Regions from separate parts of the Homo sapiens genome. Here all the other regions are linked to region 2. The links are contacts of gene promoters, found by promoter capture Hi-C in blood cells and fetal thymus (Javierre and others, 2016). All regions are on one chromosome and are shown on one strand. Each heading gives the region's core, a stretch centred on a gene start or on the middle of the fragment in contact. The rest is flanking DNA. Distances are from core to core; before and after follow the strand shown. Region 1 holds the start of VIRMA (vir like m6A methyltransferase associated). Region 2 holds the start of TP53INP1 (tumor protein p53 inducible nuclear protein 1). Region 3 overlaps CFAP418-AS1 (CFAP418 antisense RNA 1).

Region 1 (3,456 bases), core at 909-3,408, 400 kb before region 2:
GTTCTAATACGTCAGATACTGATGGGCATTTTGTAAACTAAGATGATAAACCCCAACGAATTCACACTGTGCTTCTTTATGTGATCATCACATTCTAACTCAAATCACAATTTTGTGAATCTAATCTCCAATACTGAGTTATAACTTCTTGAAAACAAACATTTCAATATTTCGTATCACCCACAAACCCCTACTTCCTCCTTCAAGACTTGATTTAAATGTGATCTCTGCTAAGCCTTCCCCAATCACCCCAGAAGAAAGCATTTACCATCTGCCCTATGCTCTCAAGGTATTCAATGTTTACCTAAGAATGAATAAAAGAATAGAAATACATGATAAACTAATGAAGGCCAATTTTCCTAAACTAGAATAGTACTAAACTAATTCATCACATGCCTCTTTCTCTTTTTCCTTTTTCTCTTTCTTCCTTTCGAGACAGGGTCTCACTCTGTTGCTCAGGCTGGAGCACAGTGGTGTGATCTTAGCTCACTGCAGCCTTGAACTCCCAGGATCAAATGATCCTTCCACTTCAGCCTCCCGAGTAGCTGGGGCAACAAGATCAAACCACCACAACTAGTTAATTTTCTTTTGTAGAGACAGGGGTTGCACTGTGTTGCCTAGGATGGTCTCAAACTCCTGGACTCAAGCAATCCTTCTGCTTCCGCCTCCCAAAACGTTGAGATTACAGGCATGAGCCACTGCGCCAGGCTCTTTCAGTTTTAACTGTTCTCTATTTCTATACACCATAAGTTTGTTCTGATCCAACTACTGCCTCCATTGAGGGTTTTCTAAATCTCGGCTAGAATGTTAGATATAGTCATTGAACAAACAGTGCTAACTGACCCACATTAAATGTCAGACCATAAATTAACTGTCAGTAAGAAATGCTAACTCAAAGTTCTCCAACTTTTGACTTTTACAAACCTATAAACCATTCGTTAAATTAGATCACAGCTGTCAACTTTTTATTTTGCCAAGTAAAGCATTATGATACAATCACTACCCACTATCATTACTATCTCATAAAAGAAAGAACATTTTAAACATTTTCCATTCAAATATTTATTGAGCACCTACATTTTGCTAATACTGTCCTAGGCACTGGAGATACAGCTGAGAAAAAGAGAAATTATATCTGTCCTCAAAAAGCTTGATACAAGAGCACACTTGATAAAAATAAAAGGAAAAAAATAATCTCCAAAGAAAGAACAGTTCTCTAAATTAAGCTTACATTAAGACAGAAAAATGTGAAGTTCGTTTTTTTTTTTAACAATTTCTCCGTAGACTTCATTCAAGTTCATTTTTGGTCTGCTTTCAGGAATCTTTAGTTAACCAGCTATGTTTAATCTACATATTGCAGGGCCAATTGTACATTAAGGGGCGCTCAAGTAGTTTTGTACAGAAATATTACTCCACAACATTCCACCTCCAACCTCAAAGGAGATGTCTGCTGATGAGTTTAACTATAATTCTCTCAACTCTCCCCTCTTCGCAAGTATTCTCCGTGAATGCATCTCATTCCTAATGTGTGAAATCTCTCCGAGAGACAAGTATTAAAGTTTCAGGCCAAATCGGAGAGCACCGTAATCCTAAACCAAGTAAGTGTCACAACTGGGGAACATAATTCCCGACAGAAAAGAGGCCAAAGAGAAAGGATTTAGAAACATCGTGATTCGGAAACCACGAAGCCAACGTAAACTGCTCAGACTCCGGCACTACTGTCAAACACTACTGGCAAACCAAGACCCCTCCCAAACGCCATCTGAGGTAAACCTGAGAACCCTGATCCTTCTCAAGGCCCAAACCTGACAGGAAAAATAAAAAATAAAGCCATGCAAGCAGAAAAGCCAACTCGACCAAAGACACGGAGGGCCCAAGTTAAAGCAAGGAAATGAAGGGGCTGCTGCAGCCCTCCCTCAGACGCGATGCTCACACAGCTCGGGGGAGGGTGTCTGTGTGTAAGCGAGAAATTAAAGAAGCAATCTGCAGAAGGAAAAGTGGAGAACGCCTAACGGTTTTTTTGTAAAGATCCCAAGTCAAGAAGCAGCGTCAGAATCAAGTCGCCAAGCCTTACCTCAGCGCTCGGGTGTTTAAAAGTATCTAAAAATAACAGCTCCATCGCCGAGTCCACCGCCATGTTTGCCGCGGGCGGGGAACAGGGGGGAGGACTTCCGGGGCAGCGCTCCAGCCTCCGCGACAGCGACTCAGGAGAGGGAGAAACAGAGGGACTTCCGGTGACCAGAGCACTAGCGCCGCAAACCTCGGCCTATCCCAACGCATCTTGTTGCCCGGAGTTGCCGGCCCCGCCTTTTCCAGCGCGGCGGAGGGCGCCCCCTAGAACGCAGAGGGGGGGCAGAGGGAAGTGAGATGGGGACTACGGGGTCTCCAGTGGTTCAAACCCTGTCGTTCCTCCGCGTTACAGAGCTACAGCGGTCTCCGGGTGGCGAAGTGCGGAGACGGGGTTTTGGAGACGGTGGATGGAGGAGGGGGAGGGAAAGCTGCCAACTTTGGATACCAACCCCGTACACCCACCGAAGGGGATGTCCCACTTTTTCCAGCGCTGGGAGCAAAAAGATAACAGTGAGCGAGGTTGAAAAGTAAGACATTGATTTAAATAGAAGAAAAACTGTTGTTTCAACCAACGAAGAGATTCTTTGTTTTCTTATCTGTAAAATGTGAAAAATCGTACCTAACCTACAGGGTGATTGTGAGGAGTAATTGAAATAAAATTCGAGGAATTGTGTAACGTGAAGTACCATGAACAATAAAACAGGAGGCAGAATGAAAAGTAAGCCTCTCTGTCGGGTGTTGATGAGCTTTGGAGCAACGAGATAAACTCAGCGGGTTTGGTAGTCTAAATGGCACAAACCCTTAGCAGAGCAACTAGGAAATAGCTTGTAAAATTACACGTGCCTACCACTCTTCTAGGAAAATTCTCGCCCACGTATCTACAAATACAAGAATATTCATAGCAAACTTTATAAGTTGCAAAAGAGCAGGAAACATAAGTGCCATTGACAGAAGTAATAAGTAAATAGTGGCGTATTTATATAATAGTATATAGCAGGTACGAAGAATGAACCAGTGCTATGTTTACTAGCATGAAAAACCCAAAAAACAGGGTTGGTGGGCGCTTTGGCTCACGCCTGTAATCCAGCACTTAGGGAGGATGAAGCGGGAGGATCGCTTGAGCCCAGGAGTTGGAGAACTGCCTGGGCAATATAGCGAGACCCCGTTATTCACAAAAAGAAAAAAAAAAGACACAAACCAAAACAAAACAAGTTTAACTCCTCTCATCGCAAGCCGGGTGCGGTGGCGTGTTCCTGTGGTCCCAACTTCTCGGGAAGCTGAGACAGGAGAATCTCTTAAGCCCAGGAGTTGGAGGCCAGTGGGGACACCCATCTCTTAGAAAAGGAAATAAAAAATATATAGTGTAAAATAACATCTATATATTTA
Region 2 (3,139 bases), core at 180-2,679:
ATTTCAATTACCAGGCTGGTGATTTCAGTATCGTGGGGGAACTCATTATGACTTCTGTTCAGTGACCCCAAGGGTCACATTGTTCCCCCTTTTCCCAAAACTATTGTGCATTGAGAAAAGGCTTTTTTAGCAATAGATGCCCAAGTCCTTGGGAGTCACAGTTGTAAAGAGGCTCTTCCTTAATCCACTCTGTATTGGAATTAACCTACTGAGCAGATATAATCAGAAAATACAAGCAAAACAGACTCTCCAGGTAAAATTCAGCTGCCACTTTGAAATACAAACACCATTTCCTTTTATTAATTGGCTGTGTGGCCTTGAGCAACTTAATCTCTCTGTGCCTCGGGTTTCCTATGTGTAAGATAGCCGGGCCTATTTCATATAAGGTTATTATGAGAATCAACTGGGGCGATAAAGCAAAGCCCCCAGCATAGTATATGGCACATACTCAGCGCTCAGTAAGCGTGAGCGATCCAAAGGATCTAAATGTTAAGGGCCAAGGAGAGCGCTCTTTCCACAGGTGCAAAGTCAGGTAGCGAAGACTGAGTTCAAGCCAGGTCAAGCAAGGGACAGGCCGCGGACAGGCGGGGGCCGGTGGCCGGGTCACGGAGCAGGTTCCCCATAGCCGCAGGGCCTCCGGAACTCGGAGGGCAGGCGCAGGGGACGGGATCGCAGGGCGGGGACAGAGCGCCGGGCCACAAGCCCAAGCGCCGCTGTCTTCGGAGATGCGTCCCGGGGGTGGCCGCGGGAGCCCCGACGCCGAGTCCCGAAGGGGCGGCCCCATCCAACGGCCGAGAGCAGGCGGAGGAGGAGGAGTGGAGGGGAGTGAGGAGGGGTGAGAGGAGGAGGTCCCGCCGCGGCCAAGAAAACAAGCCACGCTCGGGGGAGGAGGCAGAGACCAAACTCCCAACCGCCGCCCAGCGCCGGGGCCAGGCCGGGCCCTTGTCCGCGCCGCCGCCGCCTCTGTCAGCCTCTGTCCGCGCCCTGGGCCCCGGGGGCCGCCGAGGACCGACCCACTGGGTGGGCGGCCGGGCCCGGCGGCGGCGAGGGGAGGCAGCGAGGGGGCTCGGTGAACGCGCAACCGGCGCCCCGAAGGCAGGGCGCGCGGCCGGCCCCGCCGGGCTCAGGAGCGGGCAGCGCTGCGGCCCCAACCGGCAGCGAGGCGGCCCTGGACGGACGCCCGCCCGCCCCCCCCCGGCACTTACGTGGGCCCGGGCCGTGCGGGGCTGCGCGGGGAAGGGAGCGGCCGCCGGCTCGGCGGGGAAGGACGCGGGCGGGGCGGGACTGCTGAGGTAGCTGCGGTGGGGCCGGGCTGCGCTGCACCTCGTTCAGGTACCCAGACGGCAGGCGCGGGGCCGGCTCCAGCCCTCGGGTCGCTGCGCCCAGGCCGGCCAGTCCAAGTCCTTTTGTTGTTGTGCAGCGCTCGCAACAGCTGATCGGCCGCTCCGCTCGCCGTCGGGCCCCGCTGCCCCGCCCCGGGCCGCGCCAGGCCGGGCCCCACCAATCGGCGGTGCGGGGGCCCCGGGGCCGCCCTGCGAGAGGTTGTCACCAACGCACGTGACCTGGCGCCCGGCCGGCGGCGCGCTCAGCTCCGAAACAAGCCCGGGCAACAAAAACCGGGAGCTGAGCGTGAAGGCCTGGGCGAGCGGAAGGGTGGGAGAGAGGGGCTAGGCCGGGGAGGGAAGCGCTGGGGCCGGGGCCGGCTTTCCAGGAGCCGGCGGGAGCGGGGTGCGTAAGAGGCGGGCGAGGAAGAACCGGCGGGCAACGGGAAGGGCAGAGGTGGATCTCTCCCTCAGCGACCCCTCTCGCCGAGTGAAGGGTCGAGGGTTTGGGGCACAAAGGGCGCAGAACGTTTTTTCCTGTGAGAGGAACATTAAGACTCCTGGGAGGGCTGGGGCTAACGCCTCCGAGAGCCCCACCTGGTCAGCCTAGGGTTAGACGTGTAGCCAGGGTGCTGGGAGGGGGCCGCTGCTGGGCCCCAGATAGAGGGGTAGAGGCCGCTCAATCACGGAGCCAGGCCCCACCTGCTGTAGAAACCGCCACCGAGAGCCGGCCGGGCTTGCTGCACGCTCTGGATTCCGCCTGCCTATAGGCGAGGCACAAGGGACTGCGAGACCAGGCCTGAAGGCAGAGAGGTCAGCAGGCTCGGGGGCCTCTGCTCCAGCGGACAACAAGCGCACCGGGCGGGAACGGCCGCCTCCCCAGGCGCTGCAGCCTAGCTCTCATGTGACCCACGGAACTTAGCCCCTCTGTTCTGTTTGCATACCTGCAAATTGTGGGCATTCACGCCGGGACTGCCAACTCACCAGGTTATTTATAGTGACAAGAGAGTGAGACAGTGGGCTTGAAAGTGTTTTCCAGACCAAGGCTCTGTCCCACATATAGGTGGATTAACTGTCTGGCAAAGGCAGGTGAGTAACGTTGATGCCTATCAGCTCTCATGTGGATACTGTTTGGACTGGGATGTAGTTCTTTGACCTGGGGTGAGCTGTATAGCAACCCTGGAGGGATGCCTATCACACATTACAGTATCTGAAAGACACTCACATTCTGACCCTCACAATGTAGTCAGTCCATTTCCAACAATGCTGGTTTTAAAGGATGTAAATTGCAGTGCAGGGAGTTGTCAGACACCAAGGAGTAATGATCAAAATATGATGGTCATTGGACCTTATCTTGGGAGAAAGAGCTAAAACTGTGTTCTAGATAGTCTCACAGACTTGAACATGCTTTGGATTTTAGGTTTTTGCAAATCAGGCTTGTTCTAATATTTTCTCCCACATGCTATGGTAGGAGCCCCATGATCTCTTGTTTCTCCCTAGGAATCCATTGAAGAGGCCATCTCCACATTCAGAACCAAGGTATGATGACAATTACAAGGGGCTAATTTTTAAAAAGAAAAAGGCCTACCTTTTTCCAGTTTGATAAGGTTTATCATGGTTAAAGCAACATGTGAAATCATCATCTTGTTATGATAGAAAAATTCAATATGAAGTAGATCATTTTTCCAAAGATGACCACAACAGTATCTCCATCATGAAGTGGGTGTATTTTTCTTCCCTTTGAATCTGGGCTGACCCTGTGATTGCTCTGACCAATAGAATGTGGCAGAAAGAATGTTCTAGGACTTCCAAGCCTC
Region 3 (3,272 bases), core at 334-2,833, 360 kb after region 2:
ATCCTGGAAATGCTAAAAAAGATCCTGGACCAATTTTTTCATCCCTCAGCTATATGATTGTAGGCAACTTGCTCAAACTCTCAGTAACTTAGTTTCCTCATCTATAAAACTAGAATAATACATCTACAACACAGGGTTGTTTCTGGGATTAAATCACGCCTGTAATCCCAGCACTTTGGGAGGCTGAGGCGGGTGGATCACGAGGTCAGGAGATCGAGACCATCCTGGCTATGGTGAAACCCTGTCTCTACTAAAAAAAAAAAAAAAAAAAAAAAATTGCAAAAAATTAGCTGGGCATGGTGATGGGTGCCTGTAGTCCCAGCTGCTCGGGAGACTGAGGCAGGAGAATGGCGTGAACCCAGGAGGTGGAGCTTGCAGTGAGCCGAGATCGCGCCACTGCACTCCAGCCTGGGCGACAGAGCGCAACTCCATCTCAAAAAAAAAAAAAAAAAAAAAGAACTTGGAACAATAACTGGCAATAGTAATTGCTCAACAAATGTTAACTATTCTTATCACTATTATTAAAGGTCTCGGGAGAAAGGACAGATTAGCTTCCCCCCAACCCAAAAGGTAAAATATTTAATGAATATACTTTATAACGTTAACTTGAGAGAGAGATGTTTATGAACCTTGCAGTATAGTAATTCATAGATATGGAGTCTATCATGCTTTCCCTCGACTTCAGCTTCTTTGGTCTCTCTGACTTCTTGAATTGTGGGTCTTGGGTGAACTTTAGAAGATCTGCAAGGCAGTGTAGCTCAGTGTGGAAGGAGCCCTGAAGCTGGAGCAGACACCTGCTTCCAGTTCCGTCTCTGCTGTTTATGGCCTTGTGAGCTGTGGGAGTCACTCAGATTCTTACGTGTCAAATGACATCTGGTGAAGTGGATAGTGAGAAACATTCTATAGAGGTTTAAGTATAGAATTTTAATGAAATGAGACTGGTAATGTAACAAGTGTGACATTTTATGCATGCAAAATAACCCTGTCTCATTAAAAAGTATCTTGAGAGGCAAGTGCCACGCATAACACTCAAAATAATTTGGTACTGCTTTTAGAATTGTCTTCAGATTCATGGATGAAATCCAGTCTCATAACTTTGTCACACATTTTCACTTTTTAATTTTTAAAAACTTTTAAATTTTATAAGTCTAAAATTTTTCAACATGGCTGCAAAAATAGTTTGAAGTTCCACATACCCTTCATCCAAATTCCCAAAATATTGATTTATTGTATAACCACAATATAATAATAAAAAGCAGGAAATTAACATTACTATAATACTACTTAATCTGCATACTTTATCCAGATTTCACACACTGTCTTACTAATGACCTTTTTCTGGGCGGTATCTAATTTAGGACTACACATTTGCATTTAGCTATATTTTCTTAGTTTTCTTTAATATGGAACAGTTCTGTGGTCTCTCTTACCCTTTTTGAAATTATTTGGTAGATTTTCTCCTAATTTGGGTTTATCTGATGTTTCTTCATACTTAAAGTTGTGCATCTTTGGCAAGCGGGCCATGGACGAGATGCTGTGGCTTTCTCAGCATGTTATGTCAGGAGGTGCATAATCTCAATTTGTCTTATTACTCAAATGAAACTTTGCTCAGTCAGTTAAGGCGGGGTCTGCCAGACTTCTCCACTATAAAGTTACTACTTTCTCTTTAAAAGAATATCCCGTGGTGGATACTTTGAGACTATATAAGTCTCCCTTTTCCCATTCATTCTCTCATTTTAGCATCTATAGTTCTTGCCTGGAACAATGATTGCTTAGGTGTTTGCCAAATGGTAACGTTTATGTAAAACTTCAAGCCAGTATGCCCATGGATGGTTCACTCTTACCACACTGGACTCAAGGCGACTGTGTGGTGTTGAAACTGTGGGTCGTTCCCACATTCAAATCTAGTGTCTGCAAATGCTGTTCTTCTTTCCCTGTCTCCCTCCTCTGACACGTTTTGCACTGCCTACATGGAGGCTTATCAGGCAGAAGGAAGTACATGTTCTTTGGAAGTAGCTTTGGATTAGAATTCTAGACCCACCACATACGACTTGGGTGACCCCATTCAAGTAAATTAATCTCTCTGTGTTTCAAGTGCCCAATAAATAGAGAATCTTGCTTCATGGGTTCTTTTAAAGAGTAAATAAGATACCATGTATAAAATCTTCTGCATCAAGCATGATGTGAATCTCTTTAATGTTATCTCTATTTTCTTTTTCCAATGAAATCACTCAAATGGCCACAGTGAATACAAAGGCTGAATTTTGATTCCATTGGTCTGGATGGAAGCCAGCTTAAAATCTCTGCGGCTGATTCTAATGTGCACCCAAGATTCGGAACCACTGAATTTGATGCTCACTAGCTGATTTAAAACTCTAAGATAAAATAAAATTGAATATATCTTTACTGATATCATTTTATCAAAAATGAAATATTGTATAAAGGGAGAAATTTTGTGAGGAAACTTTAGGTATTTTAGGTATTTGCTAATTCATTTATTAGTAGTTTCTTGAGCCCCTATGTTCAGGCATCGTGCTAAGCAGTGGGCATATGATGATGAGATAGACACAGTCAAGCAGCTACAGCACAGTTCAGGGCAATACAAGCTCCGGTGGGGGCAGGTACAGAGATCTAATTTGCCTTGTAAAGGAGTTCGAATTTTATCCCATCAGCGTTTGACATATGAAGGATATTGAGCTGGTGGGGAGGGGGTCATGATTAAATGTTAGAAAGACTACTCTGGTGTGTTCGGAATGGGAAGGCAGGGTGATCAGGAGAGATGGATGCTGAGGCTTTATCCTGAGATGTTACAGTGGGGATGAAAAGGTGGGGTAGGACTTGTGAGACATGTTGAAGGCAGAATGATAGGACCTAATGACCAGTGATGTAAGGGAGGTCTGATGACTTCCAGATGCCTGGGTAGATTGCAGCATCATTCATGGAACCAGGGCAAAAGCAAGGTTGTGGATGGGGATATTCCGAGTTCAGTTTTGAACCTGGGCAGTCAAGGCCTTTGAGAACATGTTATCTAGTAGGTGGTTGATAAAGGTTGATAAATGAATCCAGAATTTGGGGAAGGTATCTCCATTAAAGAGAAAGATAAGGCTCTGTGCAATTAGTATTTGAAGCTGCAGGTATGGATGAAATTGTCAGAATATGTGGAAGAATAAGAGAAAAGCCAAAGACAGATCTCAGGATCATTGGCATTAAGGGTACATTGAGGAAGAGGAGCCAGAAGAGGGGAGTCCAGGGAGCAAGAAGAGAACGGGGAG

Evidence for each region. Contacts are between HindIII fragments. The CHiCAGO score rates a contact against its expected background, and 5 or more counts as called.
Region 1: the fragment with the promoter of VIRMA here is called in contact with the fragment with the promoter of TP53INP1 in region 2 in 2 of 17 cell types (naive CD4 T cells and total CD8 T cells); the score reaches 5.6 in naive CD4 T cells.
Region 3: a fragment that was not itself captured here is called in contact with the fragment with the promoter of TP53INP1 in region 2 in 1 of 17 cell types (naive B cells); the score reaches 5.3 in naive B cells.

Annotation. Positions count from the first base shown.
Region 1 is chr8:94,551,311-94,554,766 of GRCh38, forward strand. VIRMA (vir like m6A methyltransferase associated) reads right to left here and starts at 2,159. Exons shown (of 24, transcript NM_015496.5): 1 at 2,075-2,159. The coding sequence starts at 2,137. It overlaps VIRMA-DT (VIRMA divergent transcript), which reads left to right and starts at 2,403. Exons shown (of 2, transcript NR_183271.1): 1 at 2,403-2,597. RefSeq lists an enhancer at 1,853-2,472. The HindIII fragment of the contact is 4,366 bases long and covers 1,225-3,456 here.
Region 2 is chr8:94,947,949-94,951,087 of GRCh38, forward strand. It overlaps TP53INP1 (tumor protein p53 inducible nuclear protein 1), which reads right to left and starts at 1,430. Exons shown (of 4, transcript NM_033285.4): 1 at 1,206-1,430. It also overlaps a transcript of NDUFAF6 not described here. RefSeq lists enhancers at 771-1,399, 1,400-2,029, 1,896-2,065, 2,236-2,285 and silencers at 846-985, 1,206-1,585, 1,666-1,775. The HindIII fragment of the contact is 4,012 bases long and covers 1-3,139 here.
Region 3 is chr8:95,310,008-95,313,279 of GRCh38, forward strand. All of the region lies in intron 1 of CFAP418-AS1 (CFAP418 antisense RNA 1), which reads left to right. Among named protein-coding and RNA genes, the nearest start is that of TRS-AGA2-5, 42 kb to the left of the region's middle. The HindIII fragment of the contact is 5,785 bases long and covers 1-3,272 here.